Regions from separate parts of the Homo sapiens genome. Here regions 1, 2, 3, 4 and 6 are each linked to region 5. The links are contacts of gene promoters, found by promoter capture Hi-C in blood cells and fetal thymus (Javierre and others, 2016). All regions are on one chromosome and are shown on one strand. Each heading gives the region's core, a stretch centred on a gene start or on the middle of the fragment in contact. The rest is flanking DNA. Distances are from core to core; before and after follow the strand shown.

Region 1 (3,374 bases), core at 583-3,082, 950 kb before region 5:
GAAAAATAAGAAGGTGATATGTAAACATTTTAATAATGGCTTTCTCTGGCTGGTGGAATTGTGAGTGGTCATTTTCAAAATTGCCACCATGAGAACATATTATTTTTAGAATCAGAACAAAAAGATACATGTATAATTCCTATGCTACATGGTGTGGAATGATATGAGAAAGGCAGGAGGGAGCTGAGGTTACAGAAATGTACAAGACAGAAATGTCCCTGACCTCATGAGACCAATAATCTGGTGGGAAAGACAGACCGATCACAAGGAAATAGGAGTGAATCAGAAAAATGTCAGAGGGCAAATGCTCTGGAGGAAAGAAAACAGGAGCTGAGATACAATGTAGAAGGGGATGAGCTATTTGCAGAGTATATCTGGGAAGGCTTCTTTGAGGTTGTGACATTAGAGCAAAAAGCTAAAAGGCAAGAGGGAGCCAGCTATGGAAAATTTAAGGGCGAATCATCTGAGCTAATCTCCTACCACTCTTTTATGGTGATATTTGATGTAGACACACTGAGCTTCTGTCAGATTCCTGTGTCCCTAGTTCCACAGGACAGTGCCAAACCAAAGATCAGATTATGGGCAACACAAGAGGTGGGTGCTCTGTTGCTAAGGAGCCAATACCACATACTAAAAACTATACTCTAAGGTAGGGAGGGAGGTGTCTTAGTCCATTTGGGCTGCTATAACAAAACACCTTAGACTGGGTAACTTATACACAGCAGAAATTTATTGCTCACAGTTCTGGGGGCTGGAAAACCCAAGATCAAGGCACCAGCAGATTCAGTGTCTGGTGAGGGCTGTCTTCGGATGGCTCTGTTTTCATGGCCTGATCATCCCTTAAAGTCCCACCTCTTAGTACTATCACATCACATTGTTAATCAGGTTTCAACATATGAATTTTCTGAGGGACATAAATATTCAGATCAAAGCAGGGGGCTAGGTGGAAAGTCCCATCCCTCACTAGAACCAGGGAAGTGGGTGAAGAATTGCCTCATGGTAGCCTTGCATAATAGAAAGGAGAGTGGAAAAGGGTCTTGTGGCAGCTCCTCACAGGACTTCCCATCTTCTGACATTCCTGGGAGGATCATCAGGCACTCCGCCAAGACTGGACTCAGACTGTGGTTGAGCCTTGCCTCTGGCCTGTGTGAAATCTTTCCCTCCACTCCTTGTGCCTCATACATGCCAACCACACTTTTGTCCCAGGGCCTTTGCACATACCATTTCCTTTTACAAGAATACTCTTCTCCCAGTTATCTACGCAGCTATCACCCTTATTCCTTTAAATGCTTCTCGAATGTTACTTCTCAGTGAGTCCTTCCCTGACCAACTAGTTTAAAACTGCAATCCAGAGGCAAAGCAAGATGGCCAAATAGAAAACTCTACTGATCGTCCTCTCTGCAGGAACACTGAATTGAACAACTGTCCACACAAAAGAAGCACCTTCATAATAACTGAAAATCAGGTGAGCAATCACAGTTCCTGGTTTGATAAGAACCAAAAATCAGGTGAGTAATTACTGTTCCTAGTTTTAACTTGATATCACTGAAAGAGGCACTGAAGAGGGTAGGAAAGACAGTCTTGAGTCACCAATGCCACTTCTCTCCCATCCCCTGGCAGTGGCCAATAGTCTGGCATGGAGAAAGAATCTCTGAACCTGGTGGAGGGAGAGTGCAGTGATTGTGAGATTTTACATTGAAACTCAGTGCTGCCTTGTCAAGTGGAAAGCAACACCAGGCACAGCTCAGCTGGCACCTATGTAAGGAGCATTTAGACCAGCCCTAGCCAGAGGGGAATAACCCATCCCAACAGTTAGAACCTGAGTTCTGGCAAGCCCCACTACTCTGGGCTAAGATGCTCTGGGGTTCTAAATAAACTTGAAAGGCAGTCTAGGCCACAAGGACTGCAATTCCTGGGCAAGGCCTGGTGCTGAACCAGGCCCAGAATCAGTGAACTTGGAGTGCACATGACCTAGTGAGATGCCAGCTGATGTGGCCTAAGGAGTGCTTATGTCATCCCTCCACTAACCTCAGGCAGCACAGCTTGCAGCTCCAGGAGGAGAGGGAAGAGTAAAGAGGACTTTGTCTTGAAACTGGTATACCAGCTCAGCCACAGCAAATTAAAGTACCAAGCAGAGTCCTGAAGCCCCTGTGGGCCATAGCTCCTGGACAACATTTCTAGACCCACCCTGGGCTAGAAGGGAACCCACTGCCCTGAAAGGAAGGACCCAGTCCTGGCAGAATTCAACAGCTTCTGACTAAATAGCCCTTGGTCCTTGAATAAACATCAACAACAGCCAGGCAGCAGTCACCACAGAACTTTGGCAAAACACAGTACCATGCTGGCTGCAGGTGTGACCCAGAACATCCCCAGCTGTGGTGACTATGAGGAGGGACTACTTTTGCTTGAGAAAAGGAGAGGGAAGAGTAAAGGGGACTTTGTTTTGCAGCTTATGTACCAACTCAGCCACAGTGGGGTAGAGCACCAAGGAGGCTCATGAGATTACCAATTTCAGGCCTTAGTTGTTGGACAGCATTTCTGGACCTGCCCTGAGCCAGAGGGGAGCCCACTGCCCTGAAGGGAGAGTCCCAGGCCTGGCAGTATTCAACATCAGATGATTAAACAGCCCTTGGGCCTTGAAGGAACATCAGTGGTAGCCAGACTGTACTTGTCGTGGGCCTTGGGTGGTGGTAGCCGTGGGGAAGGCATGACCTCTGCTTGGGGAAAGAGGAGGCAAGAATGGGAAGGACTTTGTCTTGTGGCTTGGGTGCCAGCTCATCCACAGTAGAATAGAGCACCAGGTAGATTCCTAAAGTTTCTGAGTCCAGGCCCTGGCTCTCTGATGGCATCTCTGGACCCACCTGGGACAGTGGGGACTTGCTGCCCTGAAGGGAAGGATACAAGCCTGGCTGGCTTCACCACCTGCTGATTGCAGAGTCCTAGGGCTTTGAGCAAACATAGGCAGTAGACAGACAGTGGTTATCACAAGCCTTGAGTGAGGCACCAGTGCCATTCTGGCTTCAGGTGTGATCCAGTGCAGTCCCAATTGTGGTGGTCACAAGGGTGCTTATGTCATCTCTCCCCCAGTTCCAGGCAGCTCAGCACAGATACATATCTCCCCCCCACCCACACACACACAGAGAGAGAGAGAGAGAGAAAGAGAGAGAGAGACTTCATATCTTTGGGAGAAATTAAGGAAAGAAAACAAGAGTCTCTGCCTGGTTATCCAGATAATTCTTTTGGATCTTACCCAAGACCACCAAGGTGGTACGTTTACAAGTCTGAAAGAGCCACAGTGTTACTGGGCTTGAGGTGCCCCCTGATGCAGATATGGCTGCAGTAACCAAACACTTAGATCATAACACCCAAATCCC
Region 2 (3,534 bases), core at 654-3,153, 850 kb before region 5:
CAAACCACAGGCCAGGAGTGACACACTGAGATTCTGGGACCAGGCAGTCTCTGCTTAGACTTGACCAGGAGAGGTAGCAGTGGAAGGCTGGAAACAGAGAGCGATGAAAGAAGGAATGCTAGCAGATACCAAACTTCTGGGCATTCAGAGTCATTCCTGAGATGGTTGGTCATGTAGTGTGGAAGAGGACTCACCTGCAAGGTTCCTCAGAGTGGATCAGCTAAGACCAGAAGCTAGATGAGTGGCTGAGGCAGGCAAGAAACCCCAAACGGCAAAGTTAGCAGCAGGGATGCAGGATAGGGGCTGAAATGGAATACAGGCTTCTCTGGGACTGGGCTGAAGATCTAGGTTTCTAGGTGTAGATGTCTGGCCAGACAGAGGCTGATTAGGGGAAAGAGTGGGGCAGAGATAGGCATTTTAGGAAAATCCACGCCAGTCCAAAGTGGGCAGAGGCCCTGTTGGAAGCTGAGTCCCAGACTGGTCATGGTAGAAATGGCAGGTGTGATTGCAAGGACTCACAGGGTCTCAGATAAGTCTATAGACAGAGATGGACAAAGGGCTAATAGGGACCTCTGGGTTCTGTGAAACTCTCCAGGTGTGTCCTTGTGACTGGCCTTCTTCCCAGAACTCCCCTCACTTCCTTTCCATTGGCTCTATGGCCATTGTCAGCTTGCACTCCACTCCTCTTTCCCTTTTGTGCTCCTCTCCTTCGTTTGGACAATGACATGTGAGTCTTCCTGGCTCCCAATTTCATTTCTCCTGTCCTAAAGAAGTAACAGGCTTTTTGTACTGAGGACTTCTGGGAGATATTCTGGAATCTTTCAAAGGCCTCCTATACAACCCTTTTTGTCTGGTTTTCATCTCCTCACTTTTCCTTAACTTCCTTTGTGATAGTGCCCATAATCCCATGCCTCAGAATTTCTCTACTATCCCGGATGGAAAAGCTCATCACACTTTTCCTATTTCTTTGAACTCTCCCATTTCCCAGAGTGACAATTTCTTGTCTCCAAAGCCTTCTTCCTAGTTTTTATCTAAAAAAATTTTATAAACCACAATGGATGCCTATCTTCCAATCAGACTTAAATGAGTCTTTCCCATCTCAGAGGCTGTAGATGAAGCAACTCTCATGTCCCTGGAACCCTATTCCTGCCCCATGGAAAAAGCCACAGTTGGGCATTTCCTACAAGGAACTAGAGTAGAGCTACAGTGGAGGACTCTGACGCTGGGTCTGATTTCACAGCACATGTGGAAAAACATTTATGTATGCTTGTTTAGAAATCTAATTATGGTCTTGGAATATTCTTTTAAACATTCCATTCTGGCATTATTCAGTTTCCCAAGTCCAAATCCTAACAGAAAAAAAGTTTAGGGAGTGGTAATTTCTAAGGGATCATCCAACATATATTATGAATACCATACACTCTGGCTTAGAGGGCAAGGGACTTAGTTTTAAAGAAGGAACATTTAATCCCTCTTAACTGAAGAAAAAACAATCACAGGGTTTCATGCTGGAAAGTAGCCCATACATGGCTATCTTTATTTCTCTTTTGGCTTCTTTCAGATTCCTTGGAAACAAAGTCAGGAGCACTATAATGAGGAGAAAATGACAGCTCTGATTAATGACTTCAGAAGATGGCTATTAGAAAAGAGCCACAAGAATGATTCCTTCAACGTTGCAGCTCATGACCAGGGGAGAGTGGTGTCAAAGGAAATACGGCCAAGTCATTCTTCTTTCTTAGATTCTTTGCTTGAGATAGCAGACAGTCAAAAATTTGAAGGAAGCTTAGTATAAACCTGGCATAGAAACCAGTGGATTAAGTAAGAGAAAGAGAGGGAAAGTACTAGAATTAATGAATTTAGGCTTATCAAGTAAGTGTTTTTTTTTTTTCTTCAAAGTTCTTAGGGGCTTGTGTTTCCCTAAATCTTGCTTTAGTTTTGTATCACATTTAAATAGCCATTCTAGTTTATCTTGTTGCTTCGCCATATTAGTAAAGTGCTTTCCTTGTTAGGTTAAAATTTAGTAGTAAAGCTTATTAATCTCATTTATTTAGCCATTCCCCAACAAAGTCCCACTGTTTGTACCAGAAAGACATAACCAAGGCTCTGATACCTACTACTCGGTGGCCGTCCTAACTGTGGGATGATACTAGAGAGGAAATAGCCATCTTCTTAGAGTCTGCCCACACAATCTCACATTTGTACAATACTGGCAATTCTAAATCTGTTTGATGGACAAGGTGCCCACTTAACGTCCTTGTGATGGGGATTTGTGGGAAACAAGACCCAGCTGAGACTTCCAATCCAGAGAACCTCAGGTAGCTCACTGGCCCCATTTCTGCCTTTTGGGGGATTATCAGTGTGCCTGACTTTGCCTTGGAGATTGGCCCCTTGCTGATAAACTACGTATGGTCTTGGAGGTCACAGAAGGAAGAGACACAATAAATTATCCTCTAATTGACTAGAACCAATGAATCTGACCTTTTCTGAACAAAGCTATGAATCTTTCAACAGTGAAGCAGCTACTTGGCAGATTAGTCATTGTCAGGTTTGTAAAGGGCTGACCTACCCAGACAGAATGGCTCCCCAATATTGGCAAGATGGAAGAATCTGCACTCACACAGCTAAGCCCACCTCTGCATATTGTCAGGGATTTGGTTGCTTATGTGTTTTGGAGGGAGGTGCATGTGGGGCAAACTAAGGAATAGGTCAGAAATGGTTGACAAATTGGCAAAGATCGAAGGCTAGCTAGGTCATCAAGGCGTTAAAGTGAACATAGAGTACCAGATTTCAGGAATGACCAGGAGACAGGTGGGCCAGACAGTGGGGAAGAAAGCCACAAACGAGGAAAAAAACATTTAAGGCAAACTGAGGAACATAGGAATCAGTAGGCTCTCTCCATAGTGCTCATGGGGCCTCCAATTCTCTAGCAGAGAGCTGTGTCTGGCTCAGGTAGAGCCTAGTCTTCCTAGGGTCCTGGAGAGACCTGCATAGAGAACTGCTTTCCTGAGCTGCAGAGGACATGGTCAACCATTCCTGTTGGCTACAGTCAATTCTGCTCTGGTGGGAACAAGCTAGCTTGAAGTTCCAACTATGGAGTATATCTCATCAATCAAATAAACTTTTATTTTCTGACACCTACATTGCTCAGAAAACTGTTTGAGGCCAGGCCAGGCCAACGCAGTTGGAAGGCACTGGCTATAGAACAAAGCTCAAGACCTTCATCCACCTTGAGACTCTCTGAGCTGGTCCCAGTCTATCTTTCCAGGTTCACCTGCTACCTCCATCCCTCACTAGTGAAACCTTTTCTTTAGTCGCATGGATTGACTTGCTGCTCCCCAAACTCATGCCCCTCCCTGCTACTGTGCCTTTGCTCAAGCTTTTCTTTTCATCCCTCTGACAACTCCCCCCAGACCTCACACATTCATCACCTACTCATTCTTCAAAGCCCAGTCTAATGCCACTTCTTCCAAGATGGCCGCGCTGATATGTGCCTCACAGTTGGAATAACTTTCCCTTTTTGTGCTCCCCGCTTTA
Region 3 (3,434 bases), core at 697-3,196, 870 kb before region 5:
AAATGCTAATAAAACCCACAATGAGGTACCATGTCACACCAGTCAGAATAGCTATTACTAAAAAGTCAAAAAACAACAACTACTGGTGAGGTTGTGGAGAAAAAGGAATGCTTCTACACTGTTGGTGGGAGTGTAAATTAGTTCAACCATTGTGGAAGACAGTGTGGTGATTCCTCAAAGATCTAGAGGCAGAAATACCATTTGACCCAGTAACCCCATTACTGGGTATATACCTAAAGGAATATAAATCATTCTATTATAAAGATACATGCATGCGTATATTCATTGTAGCACTATTTGCAATAGCAAAGACATGGTATCAACTGAAATGCCCATAAATAATAGACTGGATAAAGAAAATGTGGTACATATACACCATGGAATACTATGCAGCCATAAAAAGAAACTCTATCATGTCTTTTGCAGGGACATGGATGGAGCTGGAGGCCATCATCCTCAGCAAACTAACACAGGAACAGAAAACCAAATAATGTGTGGTGCCACTTATAAGTGAAAGCTGAATGATGAGAACACATGGACACACACTGAGGCCTGTCAGAGGGTGGGGAGGGGTGGGGGGAGGGAAAGCATCAGGAAGAATAGCTAATGGAAGCTGGGCTAAATGCCTGGGTAACGAGATGATCTGTGCGGCAAACCACCATGGCAAACATTTACCTATGTAACAAACCTGCACATCCTGCACATGTACCCTTGAACTTAAAATAAAAGTTGGAAAAAAAAGTTGGTGTTCAACGTGGCATACAGGTCTAATGTGACATGTCTCAGAACTCTGATCTTGATCTTGATCATTCTCACATTTACAGAAGTGATTCAGGTACAGGCGTATAAGGCAGTTGTGCCAAACTTGCCAATGCTCCAAGGTTTGGAGAAAAGGATGGAACTAGCTATAACACCCTAGCCCAACTCAACACGATGACTTCTGAAAGAGTCATTTAAAAAGTCATTATGTTTTAAAAATAAATTGTATGACCCTGATTAAAGAACTCAGGCCCTGAAGAAACTCAGAAGAGAAATACCTCGTTTGGTTAACCATAAAGTTCCAAAGGGGCCTACAGTGCAATGTGACCACAGAACTAGCTGCCACAGTAGTTGGCTGTACAGTGTAGAATGAAGGAAATAATGACTCCCCTCTGATCAGACAATATTCACAGACTTGAGCTCAGTTTTGGGCCCCACACTTGAACTGGGCTGGGTAAAACCTGGCATATGCAGAAAAAAACTACTAGATGGATGGAGAGGAGAAAAATGTGAAAGAACTGTTCAGCGTGGAGAAGAGCGGATTCCTGGTGGAGCATGGCCATCCTCTTGAGGTCTCTGAAAGTCTGTCCTGTGGAGGAGGACCCACAGCTTGCCAACTCCTGGGCCCTAGAAGGAAACCCTAAGATGAATCATCAGGATGCAAGTTGGAGGAAACAATTGGCTGCCTGAGGGGTGGGTTTTGTCAACATAAAAATGTGTCTTCTGTGCTCCCTGCTCCCAATAACACAATGGACTTCACAAAGGCATTCTAGCTGTGAGTACGAAGAAGCATTTCCAGGTGACTGGAGGAGCAGGTGTCAAGGATTCTGCAGCTGGAGACCTCAGGGTTTGAGAAGCCTTTTTCTTACACTCCTGCTCATTTACTTTTTAAGTTGGTCATTCATTCACTCATTCATTCACTGACAAGCCATTCCTAAGAACTGAAGAAGACCCAGGCCCTATCAACAAGGGGCTTCAGGGTTCGAGGGCTTCCTGCAGCCACAGATGATTCCTGAGGTATGCATTCATTAAGATGCACACTGGAAGCAGAGAAGCCTTTTGCAGAGTGCTGTCCCTCTGCTACTAGCCCCTTGTCCTGGAGGTGGAGGTCATGTTCAGTAGAGCTGACCCAGCCTGAGAAGGTCGTAAAGCCCCAAGGGAACCATGCTCAACATTGTGCCTGGCACTGAGCCATAGCCTAAGCATCATTCAGACTGTGGTGTTTGCTGCATCTCCTTCCTGCCTGTTGCCAGAATTGTAGTGGCATTTGGTGGCACCACAGGCAGCAGAAACATCAAGGATCCCTCCCTCAAGGAGGTGTGATTCACCAAAGGTGAGAATAGCCAGATTACAATGCTGCAAAAGCCTTAGAGATAAACTTGCCAATTAGTATGGAAAAGAATGAGGTCCCAAAGGCTTCAGAACCCTGTGTTTGTCTCTTCTCTTTCAGAGCAGCAAAAATTTTGGAGGCAGCCTGGGGTCCCTCCTGAAGCAGAAGAGCCACAACAGGCACTTTGGGATGGAGCTGTCGAGCCACAGCATAAGCCCCCGCACTCACAAATCGACTGGCAAATTCATCCACTGTGGTAGAGATGGATTTGTTTCCCAGGGACACTAGAGGAATGCACAAATATGAAGCCTGCATGTCAGTCCCCCTTCCCACAGGGTTCTGTGCTGCTCCCTTCCACCTAACAGGGGTCTGGGTTAGAGTCAGCCACAACTCCTTACCACATATTTTTCATTTGCTAGCCATTGCCTCGCCCAGGTTGCAAGCCCAGTCTTTTGTCTCTTGTAGTCGGGGTCTCAATTTTGGTATGGGGATAACAAGAGAGGAGTTGTGGGAGGTTGCTCTCCTAGAGCTACTGGCTAGCCCAGGGTAACAACAAACTTCCCTGGCATCCTTTCTCCTGAGCTGACCTGTGGAACTGATGAGCCACAGGTGAGCTTGGGCACATCGCCACAAAGGCAAAGCTGATTTCTCCATGGCTGGGGTCCCTATACTGGGATGCCCTGGCTGGATTAGCTGCCACCAGCTGCTCGAAGGTGGATTCGCATTTCTGCCCCTACTGCAGAGGCCATTTATCATAGTGATGATAGATATTTAATCTGTAGCCTGAGCTGCAAGCACAGTGATAACTGTAGACAGAGGAAAGGTGAGATTCGTAGTCTGTGTTAATGGGGCTGCCTTTATCATGGCCAAATAAATAATGAAAGAAGATGATAACAATGGTGCCTTTATGATCACCATGAAAAGCTCTTACTGCTTCAGGGTTCTGCACTGTGCTGGGCCGCATTTAAAAAGAAGGCAGGCAGAAAGCAAGCAGGCAAAGGGGCTGGGCAGGGCATCAGGCCAGGGACAGGGCGGAGGTCCCCCTATTGGCCTTAGTAAGTATGGCTGCAGCCAACCCTCCATTCTTACCAGTGCCATCGCGACCACCTTTACCACCAGGGCCTCCCCACACCCAAGATCACATACCTGGGTTTTCAGGGTCTTCCTAAAGGACTCCCAAGTCTCCTGTTGACAAAGGATAAGAGAATGGCCACCAATAAATGTTCAGATGATTTAATGGCTTTCCGTGGGATTATTTGAGACAAAACAAACTGGGTGGGGTATGAGTCATGGAGCCAATCAGGTTCTGCCTTTCATAGTAGATGTCGGGGAGACAGACTCAAAG
Region 4 (3,395 bases), core at 454-2,953, 790 kb before region 5:
TCAACAATGCTTGTAATGTAAATAATCTAAAAACTCCATGCATGTAATGTAAAAAAAATTGAGTAGATGAAAATGAAAGACAAGACAATAGGCCATTTGCAAGAAACACAGCTTAAATGTAAAGACTCCAACTGGCTGAATATAAGAGGGCCCCAAAAGATATGCCACGCAACTACTACAAAAAAATGCTGGTCTGGCTATACTGATATAAGACAAACTAGATTTAAAATAAGAACAATTTTCATTAAAAAGAGGTACATTCCCTATAATAACATTGTCAACTAATCAACAAGATATAATACAACTAATAATAGAGCCTCAAAGTATGTGAAGCAAAAATTGACAGAAGGGGAGGGAGAATAGATATAGTTGAATATGTTAATATGTCTCATTCGGCAACTGATAGAAGTACACAGACAGAAAGGATATAGAATTGTGAACACTATCCAACAACTATTGACAGATTTTTCACATTTACACAGAGCATTAACCAAAATAAACCATAATCTCGGCCATAAAACAAGTCTCAATATTTTTCAGCAGAAACTGTATAAGCCAGAGGAGAGTGGGATGATATACATGAAGTGTTGAAGGAAGAAAAAGGCCTGCCAATCAAGAATACTTTATCCAGCAAAGCTATCCTTCAGAACTAAAGGAGAGAGAAATATTTTGCCAGACAAACAGAAGCTGAGGGAGTTCATCACCGCCAAATCTGTCTTAAAAGAAATGCTAAAGAGAGTTCTTCAGTTTTCAGGCTGAAAGCAAAGGGCAGTAATGACTAACACTGAAGCATTTTAAAGTATAAAACTCACTGGTGAAAGTAAGTACAGTCAGCTTCACAATACTCTAATACTGTAACGATGGTGTATAAATCAGTCAAATCTTTAGTATGAAGGTTAAAAACAAAACTATTAAAAACAATAAGGATAATTATAACAATTTGTTAAGGGATATGCAATACAAAAGATGTGAATGATGCTGTCAAAAATTTAAAATGTGAAGTAGAGAGTGTCATTAAAATGTAGTTTTTTATGACTATAAAAGCTTACTTGTTACCAGCTTAAAATAACCTGTTATATCATGAGATATTTTTGTAACACTTAGTGTAGCCACAAAGCAAAAAGTTATAATAGATACAATAAAAATAAAATGCAAAAACCCAAAATATACTATTAAAGAAATTCACTTAACCACAAAGGTAGATAGTAAGAGAGGAAGAAAAGATCTACAAAACAACTAGAAAAAAAAATAACAAAATGATAGCAATAATTCCTTACCTACTAATAATCACCTTGAATGTAAATTCAAGACACAGAATGGCTGGAATGGATAAAACAAACAAACAAACAAACAAAAAAAAACCCCAGCTATATTCTGGTTTATATGCTCATTTCACTGTTAAGGACACTCAAGACTGAAAGAAAAGGAATGGAAAATATATTCCATGCAAATGGAAACCAAAAGAGAGCAGAAGTAGCTATACTCAGATAAAATAGACTTCAAGTCAAAAACTGTAAAAATAAACAAAGATTATATAAAGATAAAGGGGTCAATTCAGCAAGATAATACAACAATCATAAACACATATGCACCCAACATTGGAGTACCTAAATATATCAAGCAGGTATTAATAGATCTGAAGAGAAACATTGACTATCCAATACAATAAGAGTAGAGGACTTCAATACCCCACTTACAGGAACAGACAGATCATTCAGACAGAAAATTAACAAAGAAACATCAGCTTTAAACTGCTCTCTAGATTAAATGGACCTAACAGACATTTATAGAACATGCCATCAAACAGCTACATTATATACAATCTTCTCAACTGCACATGGAACATTCTATAGGAAAGATAATATATTAGGCCACAAAACAAGTCTTAATAAACTTAAGAAGATCAAAATCATTTTAAGTATCTTTTTTATTTTAGAAAGAGGGTCTTGCTCTGTCACCTAGCATGATTATAACTCAAAGTAGCCTTGAATTCCTGGGCTCAAGTGATATTCTCGAGTAGTGAGGACTGCAGGTATGTGCCATCACACCTGGCTAATTTTTAAAATTATTTGTACAGATGGGGTCTCACTATGTTGACCAGGATGGTCTCAAACTCCTGGCCTCAAACAATCCTTCCACCTTGGCCTCCCATATCACTGGGATCACAGACCTGAGCCACTGTGTCTGGCCCCAAATATCTATTCTGACCACAATAGTATAAAACTAGAAACTGATAACAGGAGAAATTTTGGAAACTTTACAAATAGATGAAAATTAAACAACGTGCTCTTGAAACCAATGGGTCGATGAAGAAAGTAAAAGGGAAATTAAAACTCTAGCAAAACCTTTTTAATAAAATCTAACAAGCTTAATCACATATATATATATGTTCAAAAGATTTTTAATATGTTAATCTTGAACAAGAAGAACACAGTTGGAGGACTTACACCATCTAATTTTAAGACTTACCATAAAGCTACAGTAATCAAGTTATTGTGGACTGGTGAAAGGATAGATGCATAGATCAATGGAACAGAATAGAGAACTCAAAAATAGATAAGCTGATGTTTGACTAAGATGCCAATGTAACTCAATTGGGAAAATATTTTCTTTCAAGAAATGGTGTCAGAACAACTGGATATCCAAAAATAAATCTTGATTCTTTTCTCATGCAAGTCACAGATATTAACTCGATGTGGATAATAGACCTAAACATAAAAGCTGAAATCATGAAACTTTTGAGGAAACATAGGAGAAAAATTTTTTAACACTAAGTAGGCAAAGCTTTCTTAACTAAGACACAGAAAACCTAAACCATACGAAAACAATAATTTGTACTTCACCGGAATTAAAACCTTCTGCTTTTCAGAAGACATTTATGTTTAGAAAATAAAAGGACAGGCCAGAGTCAGGGGTTATATTCACAAATCATATATTTGATGCAGGACCTGTATGTTGAGTCTATAAAGAACTCTTAAAATTCTGTAATATGAAGAAAAACAAATAAATTATAAATGGGCAAAAGATTTGAATAATAAACTTCACAAAAGAAGATATATGAATAATCTATAAGTACTTGAAAAGATTTTCATTGTCATTAGTCATTAGGGAAATGCAAATTAAAATAACAAGATACCACTAAACAGACAAAAGAATTAATAAAGTTTTAAATAATAAGACACACAATACCAAGACAGAACACACCAAGTGCTGTTGAGAATGTGGACTAACTAGAACTTTCATGTATTACGAGTGAAAATGTAAATTGCACAGGCATTTTGGAAAACCAGTTTGCCATGGTCCAATAACATTTAGCATACATTTATCATACAAGATAGCAATTTTACTTGTAGGTATTTACCATAGTGAATCAAAACATATGCCCACATAAATGT
Region 5 (3,404 bases), core at 110-2,609:
ACTATGAGAGACATTTTTCATAAAAGTATGGTTCTAAAATGATTTTAAAGGGGGAGTGGTAAAAGAGTTAAACCCTCAGCTGTGCAAAACTGCTTGGCCTACCAGGTAAGTCATGCTTTGCTGGGCACCAGCAATCTCAACTCATTTCATCAAATACTGAGGGGAAAAAAAGGGGGAGATGTTGTGTTTCTCAGTGAATGTTCTAGGTAACCAAAAGTAAACCTGAAATCCGTTTTGATTTCAACTCTTCTCAATGGTGTGATGTGGGAGGTGGCATGCCGGTGAACATGGCAGCTCTGTTTGTTGATTACCCATTTGCCCTATGGGCTCTGGTGAGGCCACTTTCTAAGCTTTCTGAACTTGCTTTGTCATGGGATAGGAAGGACATAGGAAATTGGGTGGAGGCATTTCTTATCCTCCACGATTTTTCTGTCCCATAGGGGCAGAGTCTGAGGTAGTGGAAAGAATAAGAGCCCTCTAGTCAAGATGTCAGGCTTTTCCATATGATGGGGTCAGAACCCAGGAACATTGGCATACCCTGGTCTCCAGTGCCTAACTCCCTTGAACACCCCAAACACTGACCTTGGCCTTTTTTTCCCCTTCTATGGTGTCAGCCATGAACCTTCATTCTGCATCCCCTGGCTGATGAGACACAACCACATCTCAGAGAGACCCCAGTTGGTGAGCCCTTCCAGTTCCTTGAGTCTTTTTCCTGAGTACCCAAAGTTGGGGTGAAGAGCACTCTAGGAAATTTAAGTCTTAAGCAACTCTTGGGCTCCTGTAGCCCAATGTCCATCCTGAGGGAGGAGCAGTCCTGCTGTGGCCAGAGCCCTGTAACAAAACCCATTAGGATCCTCCTTGACCTTATCCAGAGACAAGGCACGCGGGGTTACTGGAGGCTCAAGGGTACGGAGTCACCAGCCGTTGGGTACCTCCTGACGCCCAAAATTGTCCAAGTCTTTCAGAATGCAGATTCAGCCATGGCGGTCAAATTACCACACTCCCTTCACCATCAAATACAACTCTCGGGCACAGGCCCTTTCTTCCAAGAAAAACACACATTTCGCATTTTGCAGAGAAGAGACAGGACCCAGTGCCCCTTGAGGCGGATTCCTGGCCCAGCCCCCAAGGAGCCAGCCCTCCTCCCCCTCCCCCAGCCCGGCCCCGCCCTGCCTGTGTCTGGAGATGGCCGGGGGATGACTGCAGAAGCCTGAAGGGGCGGGGGCCGGGCGGCGCGCAGGCTACGGGCGGAGGCAGGAGCGCGCGCCTTTTTGTGCGGCTCCTGGCAGCTGTCCGATTGGCTGGGCCTGCGATGCCGTCGGAGTGGGCGGAGCCAGCAGCGAGCTGGGATCTGTGCCCAGTCGCAGCCAGGAGCGGCCGCAGACGGAGCGCACCTCGCAGCTGCCGGGCGGGCCCTGGGGGGAGCTGCGTCCAGCAGAGCTGCTGGGTGGTTGCTCCTCCCGGGCTCTCATCTCCGGTATCCGGGCCGACCCCCGCACCCCCTACTTCCCTTGCCCTCGCTGCTCTCTCCTTAGAGGCGACTCTTTGGGGAAGGGCCAGCAATCCCGCCTTCCCCGGCCCCAGTAGTCACCCACTCTCCCACCCCACCTCTGTTCCTTTTCGCGGCCCCGTCTCCCGCGCCCTCAGGCGCCCAGAACGCCCCGGCCATGGGCATCCGAGGCATGCTGCGAGCCGCAGTGATCCTGCTGCTCATCAGGACCTGGCTCGCGGAGGGCAACTACCCCAGTCCCATCCCGAAATTCCACTTCGAGTTCTCCTCTGCTGTGCCCGAAGTCGTCCTGAACCTCTTCAACTGGTAAGCGGGCACCGCCAGGCTAGGCACGGCGGGGACGGGAATGGAGACGGGCAGACGACCTCTGGCCTCTTGGACGGAGCGGGCTGGGGGCGACTCGGGCTGGGGGGTACTCGGACCCGGGCTCGCTGAGCCCTGGCGCCCGGGCCCTGCCTGTTGGCCCCTAGAAGGGGTAAGGTGGGAGTGGGGTGTTGAAATGGAGCCCTGTGCTTCCGCCCACCTGTTACTGCGGAGCTTGACTGAGCCCTGCGTGTGCCTAAACCGCAGCCCGAGGGGTGGGGGCGGGGGTCGCCCTCGTCCCAGGATCTGTCCATCCATCCCCAAGGATTTAAGGTTCCCGGCAGCTTTCCCCAGCTTTGGCACCTGTGGGATTGGGGAGGAGGGTACAGGATGACGGGCAATTCACAAAACATAGACAGGAGAGACACCTGTTTGAGTCTACATTTTAGTCCATTTCCTGAGGCGCGCGCGCGTGCATGCATGTGTTGAGGGGATGAGGGACTCTTTCCAATGCGGCAGATAGAAATGATTAACTCAAACCCATCGGAGCCCAGACAGTGCGATCGTGTCTGAATAAACACGAACCGTGTGGTCTGGGATGGGTGTGCTTTTGTACTTAGTCGTGTGAAAATATTTGAAGACTCCGGTTTTTTTCTCTTTTTGATTTTAAGTTTGTTTGGGTGTGCGAGTATCTGAAGCCTTTACATGTAAATCACACAGAAATGTGTATTTGGGGTGGCCACAGATCCTGAGCGTTGGCACATGGGTAATGTGTGCTTGGAAACAGGTGGGAATGCATTGCTTTAATTTGGGAATAATTCATGTGCACATTTTGGGATGCTGCAAAATGAAATTTTTGATTAAAGATGATTAGGAATAATTTTTAACAATGTTTAAATGGCAAGCCAGAAATTAACATGTACTCATAAAGGGGGGGGGGGTGTTTGGCAAGGTTCCAGCAGACAGCCCTGCAGTGCCCTTAACCCAACATACCATACTGCGCCACTGAACATGCACACATGCGCGTGCGCACACACACACACACACACACACACAAACACACACATTTGCAGGGGCTGACGTTCCCTGGGCAATGCGTCAAAGATTTGAAGAGTCACAGTGATGCCGGGGCCTGTTCTGATTCGCAAGCCCTGTTGGGGAAGGAGCCCTGTTGAAGGTCTAGGTGAATTGGGTGAGCGTGTCAGAGATCTCTGGAAAAGCCAGCTCTCCACAGAGCTGGGCTGAGTCCACTTACCTATGCTCACCCAAGACACCTCCAGGGTGGAAGCACATGCTCAGCAAGAGATATACCTGCTCCCAGAATAGATGTCTTTCCGATGAGAGCTCTGAGCCCCAAGAATCTGAAATGGTTTGGTTGGATGAGGGTCGTAAATCTCAGCTACACCAGCAAGGCTCTCTCTGTGTGTCTTATGCCATATGCCAAGTCTGGAAAACAGAGTTGTGCAGAAACAAGGTTGACATAAAAGTGACTAAAAAATGCCCAGCCCTAGCCCAGGTAAGGGGAAATGAAACTTTGAGCTCATCTTACTAGGGCACTGAGAGCAAAAGATGACTTTTCCTGGGGCAATCA
Region 6 (3,380 bases), core at 523-3,022, 660 kb before region 5:
CAGACATTCACATGTCTCTAGACATAATGGTCCAGCATGAAGTTGAATCTCTGCACTACCCCCTCCCAAACAGTCGACTGTTGGTGGTGTGAGAAGTGGGGGGGGGAGGGGCGCATAAGAAAAGATGTTGGATTTTTTTCTAAATCAGATCTTTTTTTTCATTCTACAGATGGACAAACTGAGGCCCAGATAGAGGAAGGACTGTGCCCCAAGTCACACAACTAATTTGAGGCTAAGCCTGGACCAGGGAGAGGTCTTCTGGTTCAGTGTGGCCCAGTACACCCCATTGTCACCTCCTCAGCTCTTTCCTGACACCACAGGTTGCTATGCTTGAAGGGCAGTTTCCATTTCCCCAGTCCCTTTTCCCTGCTGTTTTCCTCTCTGACCACCCCTTCTTATTTCCCCCACCCCAGAGCCATCTTTTGCCCTAGCCAGTCACCACGTCAGCTTTCTCAACTAGTCCACATCCCATTTTGAGGGATGTGGATGACTGGAAATTGCTAGCACGCATAGAAAGACATTTATCAAGCTCCTGCTGAGGCTAGCCCCACTCCAGGGCACCAGTGAGCCAGCAAGCAGCTACACATCCCCTTCTCTGATGAGCTAACGCAATCTGGGGTAGGGAGAGAAGCCACCCTCCCTCCCCAGAACAGACAAACAAGACACAAGCCCAGTGCCATGGAATCTTCGAGAAAGCTCCACAGATCAGGAAGCTTGCAAATTTGTGACACTTCACACACAGCAGGAACCATCTCAAAACAACAACAACAAAACGAAGCAGTCATCTTCCACCCCAAAAAGCCACAAATCCAGGGCACGACCCTCCTAGCCAAGTCTCAGGGCGAGGAGAAGGTGTGAGGGAAGATGGTTGTTCAAGGGAAACCTGAAAGGGGAGAAGGGGATTGAAATCTACGGCCCAAACCACAGACTTCAGAGGAGAATAATATTCCTGGCCTCTGGCTCCAGTCTGCCCAAGGCCCAGCAGGGTGTCTAGGGATGAGTTAAGGAAGTGGGAGGCTGTCAGCGGTGGAGAGGGGGCATAGCTGGTGCGGGAACCCTTAGACTAAACCAAAGCTCGTGCCTGAGACTGGCACCAACAGGAGCAGCGGCATGGGAAGCAAGTAATGTCAGAGTTGCCTGGCGCAGTGCCTGGAACTCAGTAGGCACTCTTAAAAAAAATGTGAGCAGCAGAGAACACACGAGGCAACACTCACACATTTTTGGCGCAGCTAAGCTCCCTCAGCCCGCGCACCCCCTTCTCAAAATGCACCTCCGGCCCCCCCAGTAGCTGAAGCCTGCCCTGGCCGGTCACCCCGGGGCCGCTCCCCTGTTCCTGCGCAAGACTCCGAGGAGTGCTTGTCACCAGGCCACCGCAGTGCTTCTGAGAGCGGGAATCCGCGAACTGGAGTCCCGTCTTCCTTCTGGCGTCCTGTCTTCCTTTTGGAGCTCCCCCTCAAGGACCCCGGGAGCCCATCCTACAGTGAGGCGGGCCGAGGCCGGCGCGCATCGAGGGGACGCGGGACTCGGCCAGCCCGCGGTAGGGCCGGGGCAAAGCGGGCGCGGGGCTCGAGGAACGCGGGGCCGCTGGGGTCCCGGGAGCCGTCCCGGCTCCCGGGGAGAGGGAGCTGGGCGCGAAGGGCTCCCGGGTCCCGGGATGGAGACTCACCTCGACTGGAGGATCAATAAGATGCCTAGGAGGACTGGAAGAACTTTGGACAACATTTCCGCGGAGACCGGCGCGACCACCTGCGCGGAGGTCGCGGCTCACGCTCTGGCCGCACTGAGCGCGGGGCGGAGGCTTTTGCTGGGCTCCAACTTTCACTCCTCCCACTCGCCCCGCCCCGTCCCGCGCTCCCCGCCCCAGGCCCGCCCCGATGGAAATCTCCGACGACGTGACGGCTGCTGCGGTGGGGAGCCGGGGAGGCTCGCGCGGGCGCGGGAAGGAGGCGGGAGCCCGGTTGCTGAGGCCCCCCGTCCCCACGCCGCCACTGCGGCGCTGCCAGACAGCCAGGGGCGGGGGAGGCGGAGGGAGGAGGCGGCGAGCCCGCGGCGCGGGGCCTGGGCGGGGGAAACTCGCGCCCCAGGCTGTGGCCGGCAGGGAGCTGCTTCAGGGACAAGATGTGGGGCTGGATGTGCTCACGCCCCAGAGGCGACCCCCTCCTGCCCGCTGGCACGCCGCGGGGTCAAACTGTGCTCTCCAGCCGTGGCTTCCTCCCCGCCACCTGTTGCACCCCATTGCTTCCCCAAGTGTCCTGGCTTCAACCTCCCTCTCTGGTTTTCCCAGCTCTCAGCCCACAATCTTCAGTCCTTCGGAATACAAGTCTTGTCGTATGAAGGAAGCCGGGTAACTCAGCACCTTCCTTGGCACCGAGAAGAAGAGAGACAGGGGTCTCCCCAGCAAGCTCTGATGTGAGGTATTCCACAGGGCAAATTCCCAGGTATTTGGGGGCAGGGAGGACCCGCCAACAGAGGACCAGGCGGAGACATTCACTGGAGAATTTTCTCTGAACCCCAAGGGGGCACTGCCACAATGTGGCTCCCGCTTTGGCCCCAGAAGCTGAGTGTGAGAGGGACCAACTGGAATAGAGGAGGCTTTGGAAACCTCCTTGAGACTGGATGGCCGAATCTTTCTGGAGACTTGGCACCAGGTGATAGCAGAAGAAGACACGAGAAGGCACAGAGGGGGAAGGGGAAGGGGCAGTGCCCCACTTCAGGGGAGACACGTCAAGAGTCTCAAGCATACTTGGACTTCATCTTCTTTCCCTAGACCCTTCTGATTTGCTTCAGAAGGAGAAGGAATGGCAAAGATTTGTGTACCAAGCTGATGCCAGACGCTGGCAGCATCCTCACCTGTTGCTCCAGAAGGGGCTGTGTGCATCCTTGAAGAGGCTTAGCTCTACCACACTCACCTACAACACCCTCTTCACCACCCCACCTCCCAAGCACATCACTCTGCTTTGTCCTCTTCACAACACTGCTCACTCATTGATGATTATCTTGGGCATTTTTTATGAGCTTGTTTACAGTGGGTCTCTCCTACTGAAGTAAGCTCAGGGACAAACACACACATGCATACACACAAAATGTGTCTGTTGGGGTCTCCACTGTATCCCTAAGACTTAGCAGAGCTCTGGGTACACAATAGGCACTCAACCAAATGTGTCACTGATTTGTGTGCAGCTGTGTGTGTCCTACTACCACTGAGTTAGTCCACTAGGACCTGGGGCTGCCTTCAGACTACGGTGCAAGACAGAAGAGACTGCAGGACATGTTTAGGCTTGCACAGCCCCTCACCCCCGCCCCCCGACACACACCGGGAAGAGCCCCATACTTTCTTTCATGCTTTGCTGCTGAAATTTTTAATAATTTTTGAACAAGTG

Evidence for each region. The method cuts DNA at HindIII sites, captures the fragments that hold promoters and counts their contacts. A CHiCAGO score of 5 or more calls a contact.
Region 1: a fragment that was not itself captured here is called in contact with the fragment with the promoter of GABRQ in region 5 in 1 of 17 cell types (endothelial precursors); the score reaches 6.8 in endothelial precursors.
Region 2: a fragment that was not itself captured here is called in contact with the fragment with the promoter of GABRQ in region 5 in 1 of 17 cell types (endothelial precursors); the score reaches 12.7 in endothelial precursors.
Region 3: a fragment that was not itself captured here is called in contact with the fragment with the promoter of GABRQ in region 5 in 3 of 17 cell types (endothelial precursors, megakaryocytes and M2 macrophages); the score reaches 9.0 in endothelial precursors.
Region 4: a contact is called between a fragment that was not itself captured here and the fragment with the promoter of GABRQ in region 5, in 1 of 17 cell types (megakaryocytes). The highest score is 6.3, in megakaryocytes.
Region 6: the fragment with the promoter of GABRE here is called in contact with the fragment with the promoter of GABRQ in region 5 in 1 of 17 cell types (endothelial precursors); the score reaches 6.7 in endothelial precursors.

Annotation. Positions count from the first base shown.
Region 1 is chrX:151,685,909-151,689,282 of GRCh38, forward strand. No RefSeq gene overlaps it. Among named protein-coding and RNA genes, the nearest start is that of PRRG3, 7.9 kb to the right of the region's middle. The HindIII fragment of the contact is 7,812 bases long and covers 1-3,374 here.
Region 2 is chrX:151,789,347-151,792,880 of GRCh38, forward strand. No RefSeq gene overlaps it. Among named protein-coding and RNA genes, the nearest start is that of CNGA2, 56 kb to the left of the region's middle. The HindIII fragment of the contact is 247 bases long and covers 1,781-2,027 here.
Region 3 is chrX:151,770,497-151,773,930 of GRCh38, forward strand. No RefSeq gene overlaps it. Among named protein-coding and RNA genes, the nearest start is that of CNGA2, 37 kb to the left of the region's middle. The HindIII fragment of the contact is 6,140 bases long and covers 1-3,434 here.
Region 4 is chrX:151,843,332-151,846,726 of GRCh38, forward strand. No RefSeq gene overlaps it. Among named protein-coding and RNA genes, the nearest start is that of MAGEA4-AS1, 66 kb to the right of the region's middle. The HindIII fragment of the contact is 1,323 bases long and covers 1,043-2,365 here.
Region 5 is chrX:152,636,536-152,639,939 of GRCh38, forward strand. GABRQ (gamma-aminobutyric acid type A receptor subunit theta) reads left to right here and starts at 1,360. Exons shown (of 9, transcript NM_018558.4): 1 at 1,360-1,816. The coding sequence starts at 1,668. It overlaps MAGEA3-DT (MAGEA3 divergent transcript), which reads right to left. Exons shown (of 5, transcript XR_938525.3): 3 at 3,069-3,259. The HindIII fragment of the contact is 4,664 bases long and covers 349-3,404 here.
Region 6 is chrX:151,972,904-151,976,283 of GRCh38, forward strand. It overlaps GABRE (gamma-aminobutyric acid type A receptor subunit epsilon), which reads right to left and starts at 1,773. Exons shown (of 9, transcript NM_004961.4): 1 at 1,667-1,773. The coding sequence starts at 1,722. The HindIII fragment of the contact is 4,903 bases long and covers 712-3,380 here.